Linked DNA regions of Homo sapiens: region 2 is linked to region 1. The links are contacts of gene promoters, found by promoter capture Hi-C in blood cells and fetal thymus (Javierre and others, 2016). All regions are on one chromosome and are shown on one strand. The core of a region is centred on a gene start or on the middle of the fragment in contact, and the rest is flanking DNA. Distances in the headings are between cores, read along the strand shown.

Region 1 (7,188 bases), core at 1,741-4,240:
TTCTGAGCTGGGTTTCTGAGCCAGGATTTGATACCAGGTTTTCTAATCTCAAAGCCTCTCCAATTTTTCCACATGCTTATAACTATATTCCATAACACATAATTTTACGGTTACTTGTGTTTTTTAATATCCCACCTCCATGTAGTCTCTCAAACTGAAGCAAAAGTCAGGTGCTTTATATTTCTTTTGTATCTCTTGAAGCAATTAAAATGGTGTTGAACACATACATATCCCTTTCCTATAACCTTTTGTACTTTATCATAATTCAATAACCTGTACTTTATCAATAATAACACTGTACTTTATCATAATTCTTATCACCTGTACTGCAATGGCATGTTTACTTTTCTATTTATCTCACACTCATCTGGTAAGCTCTAGAGGGAAAAGACCATGTCTACTTTATATTCACAGTGTCTGCACACAATAAGTACTCAATACAAAGTAAATAATATTGTCAAGGAGGACTGGAGACAAAAATGTACTCAGTAAATATTTGCTGTATGAACAATTCAAAAAATTAAAGCTGAACTTTATTAAAATTCCATATATCAGTGAACAGCTTTGGGTATCAAACTGCCATCTCCTGTATAGCAATTTTAATAAAGTCAATGGTGCAAATCAGATAGAAAATACTACATATTTAGACTTGAGTTCTGAAAGTTTTGTTATAATTACAATGTCAAGGGATCATCTCATATTAAATAATGTCTGAAAGACAACTTAAATTCATGACCCATATTCCTCTGCTTTTCATTCTGGAGGGAAAATTTCAAAGTCTTCATTTGTAAAATTTTAAAATGTTTTAAAAATGTCAAATAGTTTCCACTTATTCTGATTAGAGATGTCAGTTCATGCTTATTTAATCTCTAAAAATTCTGGACCATTAACCGTTCATATTTGGCAACACAGTTAAAACAGTGCACCCTAAGACTTCTACTGCGGCTTTATATATCACAAACTAAAACCTTTTTTAAAAATCAAAACTGTTATGCTCTTTAAAGGAAAAAAGCAACAATAAAATCTTCCTTATCTACTTTAACACTATACAATTTTTAGCTACACGACTTAATTGTTTTTACTGGGGAGACGGTTCATGAGAATTTTACATTAAGACAAATCTAATGCAAGACAGGCCTTATTATTTACTACCAAGGCATGAACCTGAGGTGGCTCTCTAAGCCTCAATTTTCTCACTTATATAATGGGGGTAAAATAGTAGCAATCTCATAGGGTTTTGGTGGGAGGAGACAATGCATGTAAAGTGCTTACACAGTGAAAGCTCAATAACTGCTTGCTACTAAATGCACCTAGCAATAAAATCTTGTATAAGGCTTGCCATGTACAAGCGCTACTCTAAGACCTTTATACATACTGATTTTTTCAATCCCCACAACTATGACAGAGATAGATATTACTATTATCTTCATTGTACAGGTGAGAAGCTGAAGCGGAAAGTTTCACAACTTGCCAAAGGTTAGGCAGTTACGAAGAGAGTAGTTAGATTTGAATTGCAATCAGTCTGGCGGTAGAGTCCTTACCCTTAACCATTGCACTATATTCCATCTGCTGAATTGATAAGCTTTGTTAGGAAAGAAGAAAAGAGAGGCCTGGGCAGTCTTGGTAATGTCGAATGGTTTGAGATGTTAAGGAGCACCCGAATATCTCAGAATAGAGCTAACCCCGCTCTCCCCCGCCCCGACCCCATTTAAGATGCATTGATAAGCCTTTAATGAAACTCAAAGTTTACCTTAGCAGGTTTAATATTTGATCTCATCTTCTGAAAGTTCTTACTATCAGTCTTATACACAGCGAGGCGGACTAATTAAGAGGCAAGGGTGATAGGAAACTGGACACACGTCCTCAGCAGGCACAGGAGCAGCACCATATGGCTGACTCACTGGAGGTTTTTAAAAAAGAGAAAGAATATCTTCCGATCAGTACTAAGATGTGGCCTTGCCCATTTGGGAACAGGATTCGCAGACCAAGAAAAGGGTGGCGGGCGTCCCCATGAGCGGGACGTGGGAAGCGCCTCACTTCTGACCTCACGGAGCCTGACCTCGTCCCCCGCGCCTGCCTCCGACCGGCGACGCAGGTTACCTGTAGGGATTCGAATCCACCACCTCTGAGCTCATCTTCTCGATGCGGACCCGGCCGCCCCCTCCGTCGCCGCTCCTCGGGACCTGCAGACTCCTCTCCTGGGCAAGTTCCCGCTCCAGCTCCTGGACCCGCTGCTGCAGGCGCTCCACAGACTCCGCCATGGCTGGGACTCCGGCCGCCAACGCTCCCAGCCCGGGCCTTCGCCGCCGCCTTCGCCCCACGTTGCTCGGCTGGGCCCGCGAGGGGTACGTGGGGAGGCACCTCGCCGCTGCCTTCCTAGCCCAGAGCCCTGGGGACGTGCACCCAGCGCCTCACAGACAGACACGTCTCCGAGACTCCCACAGGCCTTCCTCGGAGCCGCTTCCGGTGCGTCGCAGACATCGCTCCCCCTCATCAAAAACCTGGCTCTTTCGGCTTCCTTCCTCGCTGGGCCGGCTAAACCCGGCCGCAGCAGCACCGGGGTGATAAGTGTCCAGGGCAGGAGGCCAGCGATGTTGCCTTGCTAACCGGGTATCTAAGAGAAACAGGGTCTTTTTATTCTTAGGCTCGACAGTCTGACGGCCCTTTTTCTGAACGGGACCCTGCAGGTCTTCCGCCTGCTGTTGCATTAAATTTGGGGGTGGAAGAGGCTTCTGCGTTGTTCCTTACCCGCAACGATGACCATGGCTTTGCCTTCTTTAAAATTGAGGCCTCCAACTCTGACGCTGACTGGAGAATTGAAACCCGAACACACATTGGGCTCTTTTGGCACTTGACTAGAGCTAAAACCTCGGGATTCAGCGGGCAAGCGTTGCTCAGCAACGGCGCGTAGGCTGTGTGCGGTTGGCTGGAGCCAGACCCCACCCCGGCCTCGGCCCATGCTCTAGAGGGGACGTTGCCCCAATCCTGAAGGACTTCGGCACTCGAGACCTGTGGATGCCGCGTTGCTGTGGCCTGCGGGGGTGATCATGAAGCCAGGTGCTACTGGCGAGTCCGATTTGGCCGAAGTGCTGCCCCAGCACAAGTTCGACAGCAAGTCCCTGGAGGCCTACCTAAACCAGCACTTGTCTGGCTTTGGGGCCGAACGTGAGGCTACGCTGACCATTGCCCAGTACAGGTATGGATGTCAGCCTTTGCCTCCAGCGGAAAAAAATTTGTACATTGAGTTTTCCTTCCTTTGGCCCTGGGTGGTTTCCTAAGTTTCTCCCACCCTGATTGCTTTTCCTGCAGTCAGTGGACGCACCCTACAGGCATGAGCTGCTATTGCCGGCCCTCCGAATTCGATGCTGGGGGCTTCCCAATTGGAGGGCGGTAATGGAAGCGCAATAACGTTCACCATTCTACTATCCAAAGGAATCTTTGTTAAAGGATGGATTTATGTCCCTTGAGGATTCACCAAGGCAATTAAGGCTACAAATTCTGAGAAATAGATGCCTTCTTTTGTGATACAGCCATTAGATCTTTTTCTGAGAAGCTGGTGTAATTCCGTTTGATTGGCCGTATTCCGGGAGGCTGAGTTAATGACACCAGATGGAGGATCCGAATTCGAGTACTAGCTTTTCCACTTAGGAGGTCACAGCACCACTTTGGGCCTCAGGTTTTTTGAAGTGAGGTAATGGAACTGAGTGAGAGGATCCTGAGAGTAGCGTTCCCCACCGGGAATCTGGCTTTAGTCTGATGTTTTACAATAGATAATACATTCTTAAAACTTTATTCTAAAAATAACATTGTTACTAATACAGGGCTACAGAAAGAGTCCTATCATTCAGAAAACTGGATCTGTCACTTGCTGTCTGGGAGTTTAAATATGTTACATAAACACTCTGAGAACTAGTTTCCTAAGTTGTAATACCTATTTTGATTAGTCTTATTAATGAAATGAAATACCGTAATATAGGTGAAAGGGCGTAAAAATTGCAACAACATAGTGTGCTAGTGGTATTTTATCACTAGCATTTATATTCTTTGACTACTGATTTTGGTGAAAATGAAAATAATAATAAATGAGATGGATCAGGGAACATTTTAGGGTGTAGAATTTAAAGGTCCCATGTCCCAATAGATATTGGAAGATGAAGGGAAAGGTGGAATAAAGAATAGCTGAGATTTCTAGGCTAGAAGCCTTGTGTTGTAACAAACTGAAACAGATCAAAGTTCAAATTTCAACTATTTCAATTGCTGTGGAATTTGGACAAGTTACCCTTTGAACATCTAGTCCTGCTTTGGCAAAAAGGAGATAGTAACGTTCATATTGTAGGAGTGTTGAAGAGGTACATAACTGAAAGATACTTAATTCTGAACCAAGCTGAATGTTAAACCATAACCGTGTTCAAAAAATGAAATTAGTTGTAAATTAGTTGTGGTATAAAAATTGCTTCCAGAAATGTTGTATAAGCTTGGTTTAATAAATATATATGGAACTCTGGATCCCACAGAGAACACACATTCATTTCTAGGACACATGAAAAAGTTTATAAAAATTGAAAACACATAGGCCATGAAGGAAGTCTCAGAAACTCAAAAGAATCAATCTTTATATTTTGAAAATGTGTGTTTTGGCCAGGTGCAGTGACTCACACTTGTAATCCCAGCACTTTGGGAGGCCGAGGCACGTGGATCACTTGAGGTCAGGAGTTCAAGACCAGCCTGGCCAACATGGTGAAACCCCCATCTCTACTAAAGATACAAAAATTAGCCGGGCGTGGTGGCACGTGCCTGTAGTCCCAGCTACTTGGGATGCTGAGGCAGGAGAATCGCTTGAACCAGGAGAGGGAGGTTGCAGTGAGCCAAGATTGCACCACCATGCTCCAGCCTAGGTGACAGAGTGAGACTCAAAAAAAAAAAAAAAAAAAAGGAATATGTGTTTTTTTAATACCAAAAGTTTAACAGAAGATAGCTAACAAATACATGTTTATAAATTAAGTGATTCATGGATTAAAGAGCCAATAATCTACATAGACAGTAAAAGACTATCAAAGTTCAGTGTACAGAAATCAACTGCATTTCTCTACTTTAGCAACAGTTAAAATGTAATTTTCAAAAACTTACAGGAGCATCAAAAATATAAATTACCTAAGTAAAAGATGTGCAATACCTTTGTAGAGAAATGATAAAACTTTTATTAGGACCTTAAAAAGAATTTTAAAAATTGAGAGATGCCATGTTGTTGAATAGGAATATTCAATATTGCAAACTTTTTTCTTCCAGTTGATCTATTGATTCAAAGCAATGACAATCAAAATCCTAATTTTTTTCTCTAATTTGAAAAAGTGCTCCTAAATTTTATGTGTAAGAGCGAAGGGCTAAGGATAGCAGAAACATTTTTAAAGAACCACAAGGTGGGAAATTTGAGTTAAGATGGTATGATATTAGCACAGAGATAGACAGACCAATAAAATAGAACAGAGAGTTCACAGAAAGACCCACATATTTATAGAAGTTTGATAAGTGACAATGTTGGCACTGAGAGTCAGTGGGGGGAAAAGAAGAACTTTTCAAGAAGTTATACTGGAATAATTGTTATCTGTATGAAGAAATAGAAATTAGACTCTTTATCTCACACAGTTCCAGGTAGATAAAAGAACTGAATGTTAAACTATAAATGTTTGGAAGATGTGTAAGTTATATTTTTGACTTTAGAGAAGAAAATATTTTAAAGACAACAGCAGAAACCACAAAGGAAATGACTGATAAATTTTCATTAAAAGACTTAAAGTGAAAAGACAGAAGAAAATATTTTCAGTGCATATAATGGTTAAAATATTCAGAATATAACTATAATAGCTCACCAGAAAAATGGGCGAAAACTTGATGATGCTCAACTTTATTATACTGTAGTAATAAGGGAAATGCAAATTAAAAAAAAAAAAACAACACAATGAGAAACCATTTCACACCACCAAATTGACTTTTAAAAAATCTGACAATAGACTGGGTGCAGTGGCTCATGCCTGTAATCCCAGCACTTTGGGAGGCTGAAGCAGGTGGATCACCAGAGGTCGAGTTCGAGACCAGCCTGGCCAACATGGTGAAACCCCGTCTCTACTAAAAATACGAAATTAGCTGGGTGTGGTGGTGGGTACCTGTAAATCCCAGCTACTCGGGAGGCTGAGGCAGGAGAATTGCTTGAACCTGGGAGGCAGAGGCTTTAGTGAGCTGAGATCACAGCACTGCACTCCAGTCTGGGTGAGTCAGAGGCAGACTCCGTCTCAAAAAAAAAAAAAATCTGACAATATCAAGCATCAGGATATGGGGCAACAGGGACTCATATAGGGGTGTGAATTAGTATAGCTGCTATTGAAAAATAACTCAACATGATCTTGTAAAAATGAAGTTGGGAAGATACACATGACCTATGACCTAGCAGTTCTACTCATAGATACATACTCCTGAGACTTTTCTTGTACTACAGTATAAGGGGACAATCTACAAAGATGTTCATTGTACTGTTTGTAATAGCAAAAATCCAGGAAACAACACAATGTCTATAGATACAGAATGGATGAATAAATTGCAGTATATTCACATAATGGAGTAGCATACAACAGTGAAAATGATTCAGCTACAGCTGTACATAACACAGAATGAAAAACGTGAAGAAATTAACAGTATATTATATACAGAGATAAACTTCAAGGGAATGATAAATATAAAATTCAGAATGGTAGTCACTCAAGGGGAAGGACATACAGGGTTTCAAAGACAGTAATTTTCTCCGGGTAGTGAAAATGGTGTTTGTGGCATTACTATTCCTCATGCCTTACCAATTTCATAAATACTCTTTTTATCTGCAAGATTTACTTTTAAAATTTGCAAAAATTAAATCTTATTGGAAAGATAAAATATTTAGAATTAATCAATAATGAAAGTATTATATAGCTTGATACAACAAAACTTGTGATTTGCAGCTGAGTGCCTAATATGTATCTGGCACTGTATCAACCACTGAGGATGTAACAATAATCTTGCCTCCCTGGAACTTCCATTGTATTTGTAGAAGACAGACAGGAAAATCAGCTTCTGAACTTTACAATGTAGAAGTTGATATGTAACATGGAGGAAAAGAGAATAGGAAATGTTTGGGTGTGGGGCAGGAAGATTTCCTCGAGC
Region 2 (7,188 bases), core at 2,207-4,706, 780 kb before region 1:
ATTTATCCAGGTGTCATGATGTGCACCCACAGTCCAGCTACTTGGGAGACTGATGTGGGAGGATCTCTTGAGGCCAGGAGGTCGAGGCTGCAGTGAGCTATGATTGCACCACTGCACTCCAGCCTGAGAGACAGAGTGAAAGTGAAAGCCCATCTCAGAACAAAAACAACACACAAAACAAAACAAAACTCTATAGAAGTGTCTCTTATACTTAGAGTAAAACCCAGTCTTCTGAAGTGGCCTTCAAGGCCCTGCATGCTTGTTACTCTTCCATTGCTCCAAAGGCTCCAGCCATGTGGGTCTTGGTCTTTCTGGACCATACCAGTCCCTCTCCTGCTCAAGGCCCTAGCACTTGCCGACTCCCCTGCCTGGCCCACTCCTCCCTTCCCCTTTGCATGAATAGCTCCCTCATTCTGGTCACCTTACTGCGAGCAGTGCTTCCCTTTACTCTGCCCCTTTCTGCTTTGTTAGTTTTCTTTAAAACACTTACCAAAGCTTGTATTATCAATTTTATGGTTTTTAAATTATTTTATCTGTATTTTCTGCTAGAATATAACCTCCTGGAAGTCAGGCACTGCCTTTCTGTCCTGTTTGTTGTTCCATCCCTAGCACAGTGTCTGGTACAGCAGGTATTAGTTGAATTAATGAGCCCAGCAGTAGTGCTACCTCTTTATGGAGAACCCAAGCAGGGAAGACCCAGTGCCTACCCTCAGGGAACAGCCAGGTTCTTACCTAGCTCCAACCTGAGAATCACCTTAAACATCTCTCTCTTCCTCATCCCCCAAGTCAAAAACCAACAATTCCCCAAGTAGATGTGCCCAAATCCATTCCCACTCCATTATCCAGCTTGGTTCAAGTCCTAATCATCTCTTTTCTGGTTTAACCTGATAGTTGTTACCTGGGGACAAAAACTAAGAAGCCCAAGCACAGTGAGTTAAGATTGCATCTGAGGCCGAGTGCAGGGGCTCACACCAGTGGCTCAGGGGATTACGAAGTATAATCCTAGCACTTTGGGAGGCCCAGGCAGACGGATCACCTGAGGTCAGGAGTTCGAGACCAGCCTGGCCAACATGGCAAAACCCAGTCTCTACTAAAAATACAAAAATTAGCCCGGCGTGGGTGTGCCTGTAATCCCAGCTACTCAGGAGGTTGAGGCAGGAGAATTGCTTGAACCTGGGAGGCGGAGGTTGCAGTGAGCCGAGATGGCGCCATTGCACTCTAGCCTGGGCAACAAGAGCAAAACTCCCTCAAAAAAAAAAAAAAAAAAAGATTGCATCTGAAAGTGAATTTAGGGGAAATGTCTTCAAGTAATGGAGAAGTCTAGCCATCTCTTGAGACAGTTCACTCACAAGCACAGTCACAGCCACTGGGTGTCCAAGGAGAATGAGAGACATCTGAGGGCTAAGGTTGGATTTCACTCTGGAAGCCACAATACACTTCTGAGCCTGTACTGTAAATAAACCCTGACTTCATCAGACTATGCTGTGGCTGGGAAGGAACGTCATTGTAGAGGGGCCAGATGAGCATGCAGTGAGAAGCTAGAACTGCTGGCCGGGGTTTATTTGCCATTGTTGGGCAAACAGGATCACCTTGGCCCCTAGAAGTCTGTCATGCTGAGGACAAAGTGTTTTAGGCTCCTCTTTCCCTGGAAGCCTCTCTGTCCCCCCAAGTTCTGATTCTGGGCCCACCTAGACTTCCACCTCCAGCAACCTCAGAAATACGAGGGCTTGCTTTGGATAGTAGGCATCAGTGCTGGTCACTAAAGAGGTTTAACCCCTACCATATATAGGGTTTAAACCCTACCATTTATAACACAGTCCTGGTTGTTTATGTCAGATGAGTTTGTTGTGAGACAGCCCTTTAGGGCTTAATTTTCTCCAGATGCCCCAACAAAATCAAATTTTGAGCCCCAGGCACATCCAGATACAGTGATTCTGACGGGGATCTATTTAGACAGCCAGCATCTCCTGCTGATATGGTTGGTTGTATCCCCACCCAAATCTCATCTTGAATTGTAGCTCCCATAATCCCCACGTGTTGTGGGAGGGACCTGGTGGGAGATAATTGAATCATTGAATCATGGGGGTAGGTTTTCCCGTGCTATTCTCATGATAGTAAGATAGTAAGTCTCACACAATCTGATGGCTTTATAAAGGGAAGTTCCCCTGCACATGGTCTCTTGCCTGCCACCATGTAAGATGTGCCTTTGCTCCTCCTTTGCCTTCTGCCATGATTGTGAGGCCTCCCCAGCCGTGGGGAACTGTGGGTTCATTAAACCTTTTTTCTTTATGAATTACCCAGTCTCAGGTATTTCTTCACAGCAGTAGGAAAATGGACTTATACTCCCTCTGTGACATTGCTTTCTCTCTCTCTCTCTCTGTCTGTCTCTGCTTTCTAACCTCTCACCCTCTCCCTTTCTACTGGAATGAACTTACTCAGATGCAGATTGGAACTCATGTTTTGAACTCATGTTTTATTTGAAGCTGTGCTCCGGAATGAACCTTCCCATGTCCCCTTGTCCTATGAAGTCTGTAGCCTGGGGCACAATTTGGACCTTGCTCTTCAGTCTAGTTTTATTTTTCCCTCACTCCCCAACCATGAACTGAGTTACTTTTCTGAACAGACTCAGGCCTTTCTAGCTTCCAGACCTTGACTCCTGCTGCTACCTCGGCATGTCATGGCAGACTGCCTCCTACTTTCCTTTGTCTGGTGAACTCCTATCCATCCTTCAAACCCTGGCTCAGGCTGTGCTAGGTATCCTCAGTACTCCCCATACTCACTGTGGTATATCAATCTCTGCAGTTTTTATGCTGCATGTTATTCTGATCTTTTCCTGCCTTTCTCCATCACTGATTTGTGTGACCTTGGATCAGGGACAGTCTCTCATCTCTGCTTCCTTAGCACCCAGTTCAGTGCCTGGCACATAGGTGCTCAATAAATGTTTGTTAACAGAATAGACTAAGCAAGCTAGCTGAGGAGAGAAATATAACACTAAACAACAGCAAACACATAAGGCAGAAAATAGAGGTACAGAACAAATATAAGATGCCTGAGAAGCAGAATTCACATTTTACAGCCAAACCTTCTTTATAAAAACCCCGCATAGAAGCAACAAAACAGACCAAACCAAAATATTTTTTAAAGCACTTACTACACTTATGCCACAGTCAGCCCTTCACAGGCATAATCTCATTTCATCCCTACATCTGAAGTAAGTGGTCACACTAAGTGGGTGAACAGCAGTTACTTCCATTATGTGATGAGGAAACTCAGTCTCAGAGAGTTTAAGTAACTTGCCCACATTGCTAAGTGGCTCAGCTAGAACTTAACTCACACCTGTCTGACCTCACAGACTGTGCTTGTTTTAAAAAATATCCTTTTAACTATGGGAAATTTCAACTATGTATAACTATATATAAAGGTAGAAAGAGTCTAGAATAATGACCCCCCCATCCCTCCACTTCAGCAATTGAAGTATCATGGCTAAATTTTACAATCTCTACCTACCAGCTTCCACCCCATCTGGGAGGCTATTATGCATATATCACTTGGAAAATCTGTAAATATTTCAGTAGTCCTTGCTCTATTTTGTAGTTCTTCTATTTTAATTTTAAAATTATTCAAGTGATAATTTAATTATCACCTGATTTAAAAAGTTAAACAGCACTGAAGACCTTCTAGAGACCAACATTTCCCTGACCCACACTTTCCTCTCCCCGCACCCTGCTGTCAGCACTTTCACCTTTTCTTTTTTCTTTTTTTGTTTTGTTTCTGAGATGGAGTCCCACTCTGCCACCCAGGCTGGAGTGCAGTGGTGTGATCTCAGCTCACTGCAACCTCTGCCTCCCAGGTTCCAGAGATTCTCCTGCCTCAGCCTCCTGAGTAGCTGGGATTAAAGGCATGTGCCACCACACCCAGCTAATTTTTGTAATTTTGTATTTTTAGTAGAGATGGGGTTTCACCATGTTGGCCAGGCTGGTCTCGAACTCCCAACCTCAGGTGATCCGCCTGCCTTGGCCTCCCAAAGTGCTGGGATTAAAGGCATGAGCCACCGTGCCTGGCCTTACTGTTTCTTTCATCCAGAGCCTGCCCACATATTTCTTGATTGCTCAAGTTATCTGCCACAGACATCGTTTACTGACTTCTAGCTGACAAATGAATATTTAACTTACTCACCCTCCACCTCCCTTTCCCTTTACTGGCTGTTTTGATCACTTTAAATAATAGAACTCTATTTCTTGTATCAACTATAGACAGTTTCCTCCTCATACTCACACTTTCTCTCTTATAATCTCAGATGTTTTATTTTCTAAGGTCAAAACGGAAGACAAAAAATCAGTTTAATTACTATGCTACTCTGCTGATGCTTCTGTGAAATATAGGTCCTTTCTGCTAAGAATTACGATGTAGGTGCCCCTGGCTGTCAGAAGCTATGGGCGGGTAGCCAAATCATTGTTTTGCTTCCCCACTGAGCATTCTCAGGCCTGCAGAATAATGCCAGCTATTTGATTATTTTTCACGGTGCTCCCTCTCCAGGGCAGGCCTGTAAAACCCATGCTCAGCCATCTTCCATTACCCCCATGTTTGAATCATGGTTCTAATGTTAAATAGCTCAGTTCCTTTTTCTTTCTTTTTCTTTCTTTCTTTCTTTCTTCCTTTCTCTCTCTCTTCTTTCTTTTTCTCTTTCTTCTTTCTTTTTTCTTTCTTCTCCTTCCTTCCTTCCTTCTTTCCTTCCTTTCGTTTGTTTTCATTTTTTTGGTTTTTGTTTGTTTGTTTTGTTTTTTGAGACTGAGTTTCGCTCTTGTTGCCCAGGCTGGAGTGCAATGGCGTGATCTCGGCTCGCCGCAACCTCCACCTCCTGGGTTCAAGCAATTCTCCTGCCTCAGCCTCCTGGGTAGCTGGGATTACAGGTATGTGCCACCATGCCCGGCTAATTTTGTATTTTTAGTAGAGACAGGGTTTCTCCATGTCGGTCAGGCTGGTCTCGAACTTCCAACCTCAGGTGATCTGCCTCCTTGGCCTCCCAAAGTGCTGGGATTACAGGTGTGAACCACTGTGCCCAGCCCTCAGTTCCTTTTCTTATAAAATTGAGCTGCTTTGCCTAGTTCAACCATTGTGGAAGACAGTGTGGCAATTCCTCAAGGATCTAGAACTAGAAATACCATTTGACCCAGCCATCCCATTACTGGATATATACCCAAAGGATTATAAATCATGCTGCTATAAAGACACATGCACACGTATGTTTATTGTGGCACTATTCACAATAGCAAAGACTTGGAACCAACCCAAATGTCCAACAATGATAGACTGGATTAAGAAAATGTGGCACATATACACTATGGAATACTATGCAGCCATAAAAAAGGATGAGTTCATGTCCTTTGTAGGGACATGGATGAAACTGGAAACCATCATTCTCAGCAAACTATTGCAAGGACAGAAAACCAAACACCACATGTTCTCACTCATAGGTGGTAACTGAACAATGAGGACACTTGGACACAGGATGGGGAACATCACACACCAGGGCCTGTAGTGGGGTGGGGGAAGCGGGGAGGGATAGCATTAGGAGATATACCTAATGTAAATGACAAGTTAATGGGTGCAGCACACCAACATGGCACATGTGTACATATGTAACAAACCTGCACGTTGTGCACAGGTACCCTAGAACTTAAAGTATAATAATAAAAAATAAAATTGAGCTGCTTTGTCTTGACAGTACCAGGTGCATAGTAAGCCAAACAAGTCAAACCCAAATGCTTTTTAAGCACTTGTTATGTATTATGCCATGGCAGTTCCTCACTAGAGAGAGCTTATGCTCTCTCTTGTTTGTGATAGAAAAATTGGAAGCAACCTATGCCTATCAACAGAAAAAGTCATAACCTATCATATAGACAAGGAACCTTCAATAAATTCATGGAAAAAAATGTGTATTATGAAAAAACAATACATAGATTTTTTTTTTTTTTTTTTTTTGAGACAGAGTCTCTCTCTGTCACCCTGGCTGGAGTGCAGCAAAGAGAACTTGGCTCACTGCAAGCTCCACCTCCTGGGTTCAAGGTATTCTTGTGCCTCAGTCTACCCAGTAGCTGGGACTACAGGCACACGACACTGCACTCAGCTAATTTTTTGTATTTTTAGTAGCAATGGCCTCAAGTGATCCACCTGCCTCGGCCTCCAAAAGTGCTGAGATTACAGACATAAGCCATCGTGCCCAGCCTAAATTTCAAATTTTTTTGCACCAAAATAAACTCATACTAAGTTCTTATATCTGAACAGAATAGTTCAGAATCAGATATAAGAGGCACTAAGAAGTATAAGACATCAGTTTGGAAAGAGCCCCTATCATAGCAACATGAATTCAGAAAAAATTAAAGCAAGAGAAAACATCAAATTTGTGGTGAAGCTTGAGTAGAAAAATAATGAAATCATGGGAGCTTTATGAAAAGTTTATGGGGACAATGCCCTAAAGAAATCAGCAGTTTACAAATGGATAATTCATTTAAGAAAGAATAAAATGATGTTGAAGACGAAGGCCATAGCAGCAGACAATTTGCAAGGGAAAAATTCATCTTGTACATGCCCTAATTGAAGAGGACCAATTATTGATCGCAGAAAGAATAGCTGACACCATAAACATATCCATTGGTTCAGCTTACACAATTCTGACCGAAAAATTAAAGTTAAGCGAACTTTCCACTTAATGGGTGCCAACACTGTTTTGCCCAGCTCAGCCGCAGACAAGAGCAGAGTTTTCAATGGAAATTTTAAACATGTGAGACCAAGATTCTGAAGCATTTCTTCAAGGAATTGTAACAAGAGATGAAACATAGCTTTACCAGTACAATCCTGAAGACAAAGCACAATCAAAGAAATGGCTAGCAAATGATGGAAGGGGTCCGGTCATAGCAAAGAGAGACAGGTCAAGAGCAAAGGTCATGGCAACAGTTTGTGATGCTCAGGGCATTTTGCTTGTTGACTTTCTGGAGGGCAAAAAATGACAACATCTGCTTATTATAAGAGTGTTTTGAGAGTTAGCTAAAGCATTAGCAGAAAAACACCTGAGAAAGCTTCACTAGAGAGTCCTCCATCATGACAAATGCTTCTGCCCATTCCTCTTATTGAATAATGGCAATTTTGCAAGAGTTTCAGTAGAAAATCATTAGGCGTCCACCTTACAGT

Evidence for each region. Contacts are between HindIII fragments. The CHiCAGO score rates a contact against its expected background, and 5 or more counts as called.
Region 2: a fragment that was not itself captured here is called in contact with the fragment with the promoter of ACAD11 in region 1 in 5 of 17 cell types (total CD4 T cells, total CD8 T cells, fetal thymus and 2 more); the score reaches 8.5 in total CD4 T cells.

Annotation. Positions count from the first base shown.
Region 1 is chr3:132,655,611-132,662,798 of GRCh38, reverse strand. ACAD11 (acyl-CoA dehydrogenase family member 11) reads left to right here and starts at 2,990. Exons shown (of 20, transcript NM_032169.5): 1 at 2,990-3,196. The coding sequence starts at 3,048. UBA5 (ubiquitin like modifier activating enzyme 5) reads right to left here and starts at 2,470. Exons shown (of 12, transcript NM_024818.6): 1 at 2,101-2,470. The coding sequence starts at 2,261. The region is part of intron 26 of NPHP3-ACAD11 (NPHP3-ACAD11 readthrough (NMD candidate)); the gene reads left to right. RefSeq lists enhancers at 1,875-2,154, 2,525-2,614, 2,150-2,688. The HindIII fragment of the contact is 2,892 bases long and covers 1,585-4,476 here.
Region 2 is chr3:133,435,120-133,442,307 of GRCh38, reverse strand. The region is part of intron 1 of BFSP2 (beaded filament structural protein 2); the gene reads right to left. It overlaps BFSP2-AS1 (BFSP2 antisense RNA 1), which reads left to right. Exons shown (of 4, transcript NR_189064.1): 3 at 4,813-4,910. Among named protein-coding and RNA genes, the nearest start is that of BFSP2, 39 kb to the right of the region's middle. RefSeq lists an enhancer at 71-350. The HindIII fragment of the contact is 5,917 bases long and covers 498-6,414 here.